Linked DNA regions of Homo sapiens: region 1 is linked to region 2. The links are contacts of gene promoters, found by promoter capture Hi-C in human tissues and cell types (Jung and others, 2019). All regions are on one chromosome and are shown on one strand. The core of a region is centred on a gene start or on the middle of the fragment in contact, and the rest is flanking DNA. Distances in the headings are between cores, read along the strand shown.

Region 1 (5,996 bases), core at 1,528-4,027, 92 kb after region 2:
CATTCTAGCATGGGTGGCAGAGTGAGACCCTGTCTCAAACACACACACACACACACACCTCAAATTATCTTCTCACATCTCCCAATACTTACTTGAATATATTTATTTCAGGTTTGAATGTTATATTTCAGGTATTTAAATATATAGACTGTCTCTCTGTATAAATTCAGTATATATATATGTATTCAGTATATATATATATGTATACACACATTCAGTGTATATATATATATTCAGTATATATATATTCAGTATATATATATTCAGTATATATATATATTCAGTATATATATATATATTCAGTATATATATATATATGAGAGAGAGAGAGAGAGAGAGAGAGAGAGAGAGAGAGAGAGAGAGAGAGAGAGACCCTGACGAACCCCCTCCAGTAGACACTGTTCACTCTGCGTTTCTATGGTCAGACAGTTTTGGAATGGTTTGTAAGATTCCTAGTTCAAGAGTGCCCTCTATCGTCAGAGTAGCAAAGTACGTTTCCTTCCAGTTTGGGAGGAGAGGGAGGGGCTGGGGGAGAGGTTGTGTTTTCTTTGATACCTTTTACTCTATTTTATCTTGCAACATCCTGAACTTTCTCTTCTTGCTTTTCTTTCTTTCCTATGCAGTTTTCAAAGGGTGACTCTCCTTTTCTTTTCACCCATTTCTGCCCACAAAGCCCTTTTTAGCCTTTTTCCTATATTCAGTGCTTTGATCTACTTATATGCTTTTTCATCATTTTCACACAGAAGGTAGACTTTCTCTATATAATATGGCTTTAGGAAAAAATTAAAGACCCAAAGATACCTCTTCGCTTTTCTCTTCAACAGTTTTTTTTTTTTTCAAACTTTACTTGCGTTTTCAAATTCTTCTGGCCAGAAACAGAGAAAGCTGGCAAGAATTGGGCATTATTGTTCTACCTACAGGCAATTACATTTTAGCTGTTCACTCTCTTAATGTTATGTGGGCAGCTTGGATTTCTGTAGTTTTATTTATTCTTGTAGTTCTTTACTGCTTCTGTTACTGCCCTGGTTGGGTACATTAAATTTACAAGCCTGATATTGCCTTGGCAATATCTTAGTCAGTTTCAGCTGCCATAACAAATTACCATAGGCTGGCTAGCTTAGGCAAAAACCACTTATTTCTCACAGTTTTGGAGGCTGGAAGCCTCAGCTCAGGATGTCCGCATCATTCATGCTGGTGAAGGTTCTCTTCCAGTTGCAGACAGCCGACTTCTTGTATCTTTACACGGCACAAAGAGGGCAAGCAAGTAGTTCTCTGATATCTTCTTATAGGGGCATTAATCCCATCCATGAGGGCTCCACCCTCATGACCTAATTACATTCCAAAGGCTCCAACTCTGGATGCCATCCCATTGGGGATTAGAGTCCAACATATAAATTTGGGGGAAACACAAACAGTCATAACAGCTACCTGGAATTACCTGCCTAATAATTTTTTAGTGGGCATTGGGCATAGTGACTCACATTGATGAGGGTCTGGATTGTGTTGTCTTCCTTTAAACACGTTGAATATTGTTTTTTGGAGCAGTTTGAGACTTCCTAGGTTTGCTTGTGTTTAAATATTGTTAGTGTTTGTCTACCATATTTCTTATTCTGGAGACAGTTTTGCCCTGCTACTAAGGTGTGACTCATCTGGTGCCTACTGGATACCCTAGATGTACAAGGAGCCAACTCTACTCTGACTAGTCAGAAGTAAAAAGACTCACAGCCTTATGTGAGCTCTGGGAATTGTTTATATTTTAGCTTTCTGATAGCGTACCTTTGCCTGGGTTTACAAAATTATCCCCTACACATATGCACCTTTGTATTGAATAACATATTCATAAAACATTTTGCAAATTTCTGTAGCTCTCTTTCTGCATAACTCTATCCTTTCCAGTATTCTGCATTAAAAATCTGCCTTAGCCTACCTTAAATCTGATATTTGCCTCCAAATCCCAAGAATATTGCCTAGCGATGCTGGGGTTCCTCCTCCCTGTACTGGATCTAAAAAGTTTTCCAGGCTGAAAGCTGGGGAAACTGTAAGGTTCACTTCATTTATTTCCTGTCTCTCAGGTATAATAATCCTATGCTGTCTGTTCTACAATGTCTGACAAAATTTGTTTCATGAATTTTGTCTAGTTTCCTTGTTTCAATTAAAGACCTGAATCAGTTACCCCATTATATTAAAAGTGGAAAATTTGGACTGCATTAATTTTTAAAAGCTTTATAGCTGACATTAATGTGAAACTAGTTTTAGGAACCACTACTTCAGCTTCATAAGGAGTGATAAGATAAAAGAACATAATGATTATCTTGATAATTGGGAATGCTATAAATAGCTAATAGCCATTGAGTGTTTATTGCACTGTAACTGTTCCAAGAACTTTGAAGATGAATTAATCAATATTTATCTTTCAGGTTCCCTTTAACAATTCAATCAAGTCCAAGTAGAAGTGAAAGCTGGGTGATATATTGGGAAAATATGTGCAGGGACCAGACCTAGGGAATCAAGTTGGACACCAGGACACATATTCTCACTCCTTTCATTTCTCCCATTCCCTCCTCCTCCTGCTGCTCCTCCTCATCCTCCTCCTCCTCCTCCTGCTGAACCTCCTCTCCTCCTTCTTCTTTTTTTTCCTTCTTCTCTCCTCTCCACCTCCCTACACATACACACACACAGTATATATGTTAGTTTGCTTTTGACTGCAAGAAAAACCTTGAATCAACTCAATAAATAATGATGACATGTGTAACTAACGTAATAGCAAGTCCAGAGGTAGAGAAGACACCAGAATGTGTAATTTGGGCAATCATATGTATCATCAAGAATCTTAGTTTAGTTTTGTTTTGTTTTGCTTTGTGTGAGCTCTGACAACTTTGTGTTGTTCAATATGATTTATGGATAACTGCAGTTGTTTCATGAAATACATGGAAACACAGCAACATAGAGAGGGTGGAAAATATTGTCTCTTCTTAATGAGAAAAAAATTCCCTTTTCTTAGTAGAACACTTTTCATTTTCCAAATTCTTTGGTCAGAATTAGGACACGTGCTCATCTCGGAGTCAATTGCTGGCCTGAGTTGAGGGTACATAACCTCCCAGGCACTTCAGGGGGACCTCATCAGCCAAGGTAAATTCTTTGGTGAACCATGCATGTGTGTACAAGGACAAGTCAGAACCCGCAGTAGGGGGAGGGGTTTGCTGTTACAGAAGAGAGGATTGGGCAGAACGCTAACAACAGTGCTGCTTATTATAACCCCCCTTTGACAAATGGTGTATCAGAGGCTCACTGTGTTTAACCAACCTGCTCAGAATAACACAGGCAAGGGTTGGAGGAGGTAAAATTGGAAGCCGCACTGTTTGACTCCAATGTTGAAGCTTTTAATAAATATTCAATAAAATGGCTTTAAAAACAAAAGGGTTATGAACCTATAGTAATATCAGTGATAATGTATCTTAACTCATTTCTCAGATATCTTTAATTAGCAATAATTGTTTGCATTTTCCTTCTAGTAATATGCACATAGGAGTGCCAGGAACCTGCTAGACATCGCCTGTGCTTTGCCCTGTATTTGGAAGCCCATTGGGAAATTTGAAAAGGTCTGAGAAGAATCATCCCGTCTGTTAAGTGATAATTTGAGAAGAAAGAAACATCGTCCTTGAAGTGCAGAGAGTTGCTTCTCTCTTGACACCTTAGAGGCAAGTCCAGGGAGCAGAATTAAGTGACAGTAAAAGGAAAAGATCACATGTATCACAGGAATGAGAAATCCTTATGGCTAAGTCAGCTTTCCACAGTTAGGCTACACTTTGATGTTGGCAAAAGTTTCCCTAGTGGGAGAGACATAGGGAAAAGGGCAGAGGAATAAAGAGACAGCTTCACTTACCCAGTCTAAGTAAAGAGGTGAACAGTTCATCCATCTAATATTTAATATGGGCTTCTCTTGTGAAGAGCTGGAAATGCATTTATTAAAGTCTGCATAAGCAGTTGAGTTATAACCTCCAAAATAAACTGGAAGAAATAAAGGAAAAGAAACTGACTTACTGAAAAGTTTATAAGCCCTCACAGAGAGCCAAGCTGCAAACAAGAATCCATGCAGAGCTGAAGGGATGTCTCCGGGGGATTAGTTGCAGAATTGTTTTCTCTAGTGGATGCTGTAGTGTATGGACCGATTCCTCCATTGATGGCCAAACTACTCATTCCCCCACCTGCTGAGAATCAGAGTGTGGACGGCTGATGACTCATGACTGAGTTCCTTACCAGGAATTAACCTTGACTGGGCCCAAGTGTATGCTCCCTGTCTGGGTTCAAATTAAAATCCAAAACGTAGTCTATGTGGGAGTACAGATACCCAGTCATCATGTCTCAGTTTGGGGCAGCTCTGATGGGTCCTCCCAGTTCTAGAACCAGCTGTAGTCTTTATTGTAATGGCATCATAGTTCAGCTTGCCCTTGCCTAATTCTGCTGCCTTCCTTTCTTCACTGGTGTTCTTTCCCAAACAACTCGGGAATAAATTCCCTGCATGCAAATCTTTGCCTCCAAGTCGGTTTTCTCTGAAACTAGACCTCAGAAACTTCAACATAGTGAAACTCATAGTGAAACCTTATCCTTTGTCTGGGACTGATGGTTTCTCTGGCATGTGGGACATTCAGTCCCTAAAGTGGAAGAGACCCAAGCAAACCGGAATGGTTATTCATTGAACCTCAATGATACAGTTAAAATAGACTGAAAATTCTACTCAAAGATGAGCCAAAAATGTCATGAAAATTCTGTCATCAACATGTGCATGGAAGTCTTTTTCTTTTTCTTTTCTTTTCTTTTTTTTTTTTTTTTGAGATGGAGTCTTGCTTCATCACCTAGGCTGGAATGCAGTGGCTCAATCTCAGCTCACTGCAACCTTCGCCTCCTGGGTTCAAGTGATTCTCCTGCCTCAGCCTCCCGAGTAGCTGGGATTACAGTCCCCTTCCATCACGCCCAGGTAATTTTTGTATTTTTTTTTTTTAGTAGAGACAGGGTTTCACCATGTTGGCCAGGCTGGTCTTGAACTCCTGACCTCAGGTGATCCATCCACCTTGGCCTCCCAAAGTGCTGAAATTAGAGGCGTGAGCCACTGCACCTGGCTGGAAGTCTGTATCTTTTGCTGGTATATAAAAAATCTTTGTGTTTTCTTTCTATGCCTCTGGTAACCAGCCTTCATAGCTTTTTCTGCTATAAATCCCCCCTATATACTGCTGATAGGGTGAACTTCCTGACTTGAAACTCCAATAGAGAGTTATCCTCTCACCTCATCAGAGAACCTTGCCATGGTTCTCTAATTCTTCCATTTTGTTCTCTAAGCTGCTTCCAGTGAGATATTTCTGAAGTGGAGTTGTGATCATGTCCCTGCTTCTTAACACCACGCCACAGCTCTGTTTTACCTTTGGCAGAGTCTGAATTCCTACCCTCAATGTTTATTGAAGACATGACCTCTTAGCTCTCCAGCTCTTGTGCTTCCACTCCCCTTTTCTCTCCAGCCATCCATGACTACCAAGTTATAGTGCTAGTGATAAGGCTTCCCCTCTTTCAGTCAGAGCCTTTGTTAGAAAACCCCTTCCTCTCTCCTTTGCCTGACAATTTTCAATGTGATTCATTTTTCCCACTCTGTTTAGATGTGTCATGTCTTCTACTAGGAAGCCTTACATGGTGCCCCTGGCCACCCTGGTTTGGATTAGATAGCCCTTCTTGTGTGCTCATAGACTCCCACCTGGACTTCCATAGCTGTCTATCACGTCTCCCTACTTTTAGTGCACACCTTCTCTGGCTTCTATACTGAAGGCAGAAAGTTCTATTCACAATGAGAATCGGATTATATCTCACTTCTTGCCCAATTTCACACAACTGTGTTAACAAAAAATCAGTAGCTGCCTCACTGATCTTAGAATAAAGATTGTTATTTTTATTTATTTATTCATTTATTATTATTATTATTTCATACAGAATCTCACTCTGTCGCCCAGGCT
Region 2 (5,957 bases), core at 3,198-5,697:
AAATAGATTCGCATCACAATTTTCTGTAAGAATGAATTGAGAAAGCACTAATAGCCCTTTGGTTAATTAAGCCCTGCTAAATCGGATGATGGCCTTTGTCCATCAAAAAATTGTTCTATTTCATAAACATACGTGTATTAGATACTGGAGGGGAATTCCCAGCGCCACAGATAACATTTTTTGAAAGACTGATCAATATACAAATCAGAGTAGCCAGAAAGGCAAATCAAATAATCTAAGGCAGATGAAATGGCAAAGGGAACATGATAAAAATCTCAGACTTGAGCCAATAAATGAGTTCGTTATCTGGGCACATTTTCAAGAAGCATGCTGTGTATATGTGTGTGTGTTATTTGCGTGCGTGTGTGTGTGTACATAATACAGAGCAACAAGAATTATCATTGGTTTATCTACACCCTCCCACCCTGAGAAGTGTATAACACACCAAAGTTAGGACGTTTTTCTTAATTAAAAAGCAAAGTTAGACCATTTCCTCTGTGAATGCCAATAGCGCTGAAAACAAAAAGAAAATTGTTTTTCTCCACCAGCTACACTGAATAACTTTGTAACAAATATAAAATGACTGAAACCAGTTTCAGCAGCACCACTGAGCAGAATATTTTCAAAAAGAAGTCTTCGGACCTTAAATTGCACCTCTAATAGAAAGGCTTCTCCGATTATGCTTGTCCCTTGATTTGCCAGACACAAAAGTTTGCGGATGGACCAGAAAAGTGTGGTTGGAAATACGAATTGAATGTCACTTTACCCCTTGAAAGCCTTTGGTTTTGCATGGAAAATCTGCTCAAATTGGAATGTTGATAAAGCCGTGAGGTGTGCCACCTTGAGTAGAAAAATAACAAAGATTGTCATTTTTTTCTTTAAAGCATTAATTTACCTACATTGATGACGTTTTCTGAACAGCTGTTGAAGTGTGGGTTTGAACTTTTTAATATGTGCATGTTCTTTTTCCCCACCAATAAACAATGAAAGGAACCTGGAAAGCAAAGCCCAGAGGTACAATTTCTTGAATAGAATCATTATATTCTCATTCTTTGGAGTTTCTGTGCTTTGTTCCAACAATCTGTTCCTCCTGACTAACAAGCAGTATCAGACCTTTGAGTACATTCACATCAGTCTTTACAAATGCCTTCTCAAGTGGTCTTCTCCATCCAGCTGAGCATTCCTGGGCTGTTTGTTTGTTTTGTTTTACATCGATCATGCTGCCATTGGCTACTTAAATTGTGTTCAGTGCTAATTGAGGGATTGCTATAAATGAATACTGTGTTGACCACAGTTCTACATAATACCCAAATAAAGTTGTTTTCCAGTGTAAGGAATTCCTTCCCTTCAGAGTTGACATGTCTACAGCAGGCAAATGGAACTGCTATTCTAGTGAAGACTGCTATCAAATTTTCTGTTCTTTTAGCTAAATTCATGCAGCTTCAAGAACTCAAGAAATGCATCCTACACACCAGAAATGCAGCCAAGAAATGTTACAGAGTCTTGAATGTAGAGATTTACCCATCTTGAAGGCTTTAAGAGACTGTAAATGATAAAGCAGAAGCACTGATTTCTAACAGTAATAATAATTAGTAATGTAAGAACCAATTTGCAGGGAGAATAGATTAAAAAGTTTGAATGACAGCATTACAGCACAAGTTTCAGAGCACATTAGCCAGTGTCTCTAAAACATTTGGCCTATTTGCGATGGTCAGGGGATAACTTGACATTCACTTGGGGAGTGTGGGGATCAGAATGAGGAAGGTGAACTGCCACGGAAGGGCTCTGAATGAAGCAGTCCCCGGAGTTGCTGGAAAGACTCCCCTCTCTGTTTTCAGAGGGATTTTCCTCAACTCCTCGCCTTCTTCAGAGTCCAGAAAAAAAAAAATCAAAGGCGATTTAAAATACTGTGACTGCTCCAGCATGAAATGACTATGTGACAGCGAGCTTCAAATCTGCTAAAGCAGAATTACAGAATATTATTATCAGAATTATTATTTAATAAGGGGGATAGCTCTAGAATTTATTCCAGCCACAGAGCTCGGGGAAGTGGAAAAACATGTCTGGACATGATGATTATGGAGAACTCCCTTTAAGGGAAAAAGAATGTAACCCTAAGAGAACATCCTTCAAAGGTACCACTTCTCTCTGTAGAAGAATCCCACTCCCAGCCCCCACCTCATATATATATCTCTCTCTCAAACACACACACACACACACACACACACGCACACGAAGAAATCCCTGCAACACTGGACACAGCTGATGCAAAGCAATATCTAGGCAGGGATTTTACTGGTATTTAGCATGAACGACAGGGCTCACTTTGCATGCAGTGAGGTGCAGCAGCGAGGCTGAATGGATGGAAAATCCCACTTTCGAATCTTACATAAACATCTTTCCCACATATAGTTTTCCAGTTGAAAAGCTCCTATAATAAAGCCTGAGGTGACAGCCCAAGGAGGGTTTTTAACCATTGAGATGGCTGTCAGGAGTGTTGTAAAGAGAACAGGCGCTTCAAAAGCCAGCCCCCATCCCTCGGATCTGCTTTGCGATGGTACCGGATGCGAGAGGACAGTACTCTCGCTTACCTTCCCTAGCGTCCCCTCGTTCCCATTGTCAGCCCCCAGATATCATGACGCCAGGTGAAAGAAAGCAGCTGATCTGATTAGCAGCTCGGGCGCGCTAAGGGATTGTCGAATCATGCCTCCTAAGGAGGAAACTCTTGTGGAATCTTCAGGAAAGGGTGGTAAAGTTGAAAGGACCTTTCCTCCCTCCCGCTGTCTTGGTGATAAGCTCTATCGTTTAATTGGTGCTGAAGTGAGCAGCTGCCAGCCCGATTTTCCATTACGGACTAATATTGTGCGTTTGCAACAATAAACAATTAATGTGGTTTGATTTCTTACATTTAGCAACCCAAGCAAACAGCTGCCATCTCCGCTGGTGGAGGCAAACGGCTAGTCCTTGACATGCCGCCGGCTCCGTGCCTGCGGGGGAAGGGTCAACCGCAAGGAAACTTTGAGGATTCTGCCAGACTGGGTGGGGGAAGGCTCTGGTGTTTGGGAGGAATAAGCGGAGGAAATTGTGGATACCTGTTGGCATCAGCGTTGGCGGCAGCACGTTTTTTTACCGTTTCCCAGCCTTGGCTGGATCCTGGGAGAACCGGAGTAGGTCCCTTATGAACCTCTTACGTACTGGCAGAACCTAGGCAAGAGCCTTTTTCCCTCCGATCCTGCGAGGGGCGCGACCAGCCCCTCAAAGGTTCCCGGATGAGAAGCGGCCAGACCACAGAAAGCGCAGGTCTGGGCTCAGCTGTCCCTAGGAGAGCGGCTACGGAGTCCCCGGCTTAAGGGGGCCTCCGTGCACGCAATCTCGAGTTGCGGGGAGACACTGCCTGGGGGTCCTGCAGGGGTGCTGGGCAGCGTCTTGGCGAGGGCAGAGCCGCAGGGCGACTCCGGAGCCCGGCAAGTTTGTAGCGGGCACCGCACCTCCCAGAGCTGGAGCTGCCACTTGTGGGAAAGCCTCGCGCTGGGGCTTTCGCAGCTGAGCCTTGGCCCGCAGCCCTGCCGCGGGGGTCGCCCTCCCTCGCCTCGGAGATGAGGCGGTGCAGAAAACCAGCCATAGACCACTCGGGCCCCCTCGCCTCCTTTTTTCCCTGGCTTGCACCCTCCGCACAGCGGGCTGCAGGTGCTTCCCATTCACCGCACGGACCCCGCAGTGAAGGCGCGCGGCTGCAGCCGCGCCTGCCTGCGTTGGGAAGCGGCGAAATAGCCAAGTCGCCGCAGGGAAGGAAACCGGCAGGAAAACTGGAGGGGCACAGCCTGGAGCTTGCTACTCTCTAGGATCTGTTGTCAAAGCAGTTTGCAAAAACAGTCAGGCAAAACCTTGAGGCGTACGTACGTTATCACCCACGGATATCGCGAAAGACACAGCTTAGCCCAGAGCCTATGCTAAGAACCCTCATCCACCATCTGAGGGGCAGGAGGCGCGCAAGGTGTCCGAAGGGGCATGGGAATTCCTATAAGAAACGGTCCCTTCTGGATAGTCGGAACATAGAGGAAAACGGGGGTGGGTTAGGGGAACACTTACTCTTGTGGGGCCCTGCGCTGGCGAATGTCAAGCCTCCAGGTTCACAAATGGCTGGAGGTGCTCGGGGTTAGCTCCCGAGGGCGGCAAGCGCCGACCGGTCCTCGCTCGCTAGGCAGGCGCCTCCGGATTCCGTTCATGCCTCTCGGAGCTACAGGGCTTGGTGCGGAGACGCAGGGCGGGCGCGCTGGGCTCTGGGTGTCCGCAACCCAAAGTGCAGCTGGTGTCTTGACGCTACCGTCTATGCACAAGCCGGCGGCGGCGGCGGAGCTTGGAGGAGGCAGGGAGATTCCAAATAAATCCACTAATTCTGGGCTGAGCGCTCCGGCGTGCGAGCCCGCCTGCCTGCCAAATGTAACTGTGAAGTGATGTGGAAAAGTGAGCCGGGTGCCTCCCCTGACGGATCTCATTGGGCAGAGCGCAGAGGCAGGTCTACCACTTGGAAATTCATGTAAGCAGTCCCCCCTCCCCGCCCCCTCCCCGCCTTCCCCCTTCGCTCTCCCGCGCTGGCTCGATCGCTCTCTTTCCCCCTACCCAAGTGGGCGCACAACTTTTCGCTCCTCGCTCCCGAGCAAGCCCCGCGCGTCTCTGCCGCCAGAGCCACGAGGTGAAGATGCGCCCTTCCGCGCGGTGCGCGCAGCCCGCTGAGGACCGAGCTCCTGGATAAGTGGGCTGGCAGATAATAACAGCATGCGGATGAGGTACCTGCGAGCTTTCTCTCTAGAGGTCTCACCTGAGCTCTGGGGCTGGCGTTATGTTGAAAAGCGTCTCAGTGACCCGCAGCTATTTTCCGTAGGAGGAAGAGGACGCGACAGGGCAAAGGGTTGAGCGTGGGCAGCTTACCTCCTCTTTATTCCAAGGGCCTCTTGCGTACAGAATAGGGTGATTGTGAGACCCCTGCCTGCAACTCAGACGCTATGTAGAGGCTGTGTGTCGCGGTTCTGTGATGGAGCGCATTCCTGATGTCCCCGTGCTCCTTTGGGAAAATGGGATGAGGGACAGCAGAGTGGCAGCCAGGAGGGGCGCGCAGTAGTTGGTTGTGGGGAGGAGGGCAGGCAAAGCAGAACTTGCTTGGGAAATAGGGGAGGAATTTCTAGGTCTTCTCAATGTGCCCTGATCTTGTCATATCCTCTCAGATACCATCCTTGCGGTTCTCCTGCCTCCACCAAGACCTGCCCTGTCTGTGGTCACTTCAAGTCTTCTGATGGGCTGCGCTCAGATCTTGAGAAATGGCCACCCTGGGGTAAAAGGGACCATGAATCAGGAGGTCCAGATTTCTTTTCTTTTTCAACACTGGGGCTAACATGTAGACGATGCCACAGTCATCATCTTCTAATAAAATTAGATAAATATAAGACAAATAAATTCTTACCTTAAAAAAAAAAACCCTCCCCTCCACAGGAGATCCCGATTTAGTCCCTTCCCTGTGTGCACTAGACGTGAGCCTGAGGGTGGATTTTACCATCTGGGGACAGAGCAAGAACAGAAGGGGGAAAAAGGTGCAGGGGACAAGACGCACAGTCTGTAGAGCTTGTACTGTCTCACTCAAATTAATGAGAAAGAGTGAACAGAATGAGAAAATAGGCACAACATGCTTATGATATTTATGCAAATTTGACATTTTTTTGTGTGCTGCATCTGACAACCCATTGTGAAATGTGAAAAAGAGTATTGGCTGTAGCTCTAATATCTGATTGTTTCATGTTCTAGCTGTCATAGGCAAGAAACTTAGTGGATTATTTCAGAGAGGGAGAGGTGAAGAGAACCAAGTGGTATTTTTTTTCCCCCAGGCAGTCACTAAGTAACTGTTTGTTCTCTTCTCAGACTGTGTCTGCTTACAGGGTATTGGAATTGGCTAATTCTGTCTTGGA

The links. Contacts are between HindIII fragments. The study calls those that stand out against the background at their distance.
Region 1: a fragment that was not itself captured here is called in contact with the fragment with the promoter of CDH8 in region 2 in 2 of the 25 tissues and cell types used here (heart left ventricle and spleen).

What each region holds. Positions count from the first base shown.
Region 1 is chr16:62,126,129-62,132,124 of GRCh38, forward strand. It overlaps LOC124903778 (a long non-coding RNA gene), which reads left to right. Exons shown (of 2, transcript XR_007065218.1): 2 at 3,513-4,526. Among named protein-coding and RNA genes, the nearest start is that of CDH8, 93 kb to the left of the region's middle. The HindIII fragment of the contact is 4,758 bases long and covers 399-5,156 here.
Region 2 is chr16:62,031,991-62,037,947 of GRCh38, forward strand. It overlaps CDH8 (cadherin 8), which reads right to left and starts at 4,448. Exons shown (of 12, transcript NM_001796.5): 1 at 4,090-4,448. LOC124903777 (a long non-coding RNA gene) reads left to right here and starts at 4,600. Exons shown (of 2, transcript XR_007065217.1): 1 at 4,600-4,787; 2 at 5,223-5,443. RefSeq lists an enhancer at 2,249-2,750. The HindIII fragment of the contact is 11,196 bases long and covers 1-5,957 here.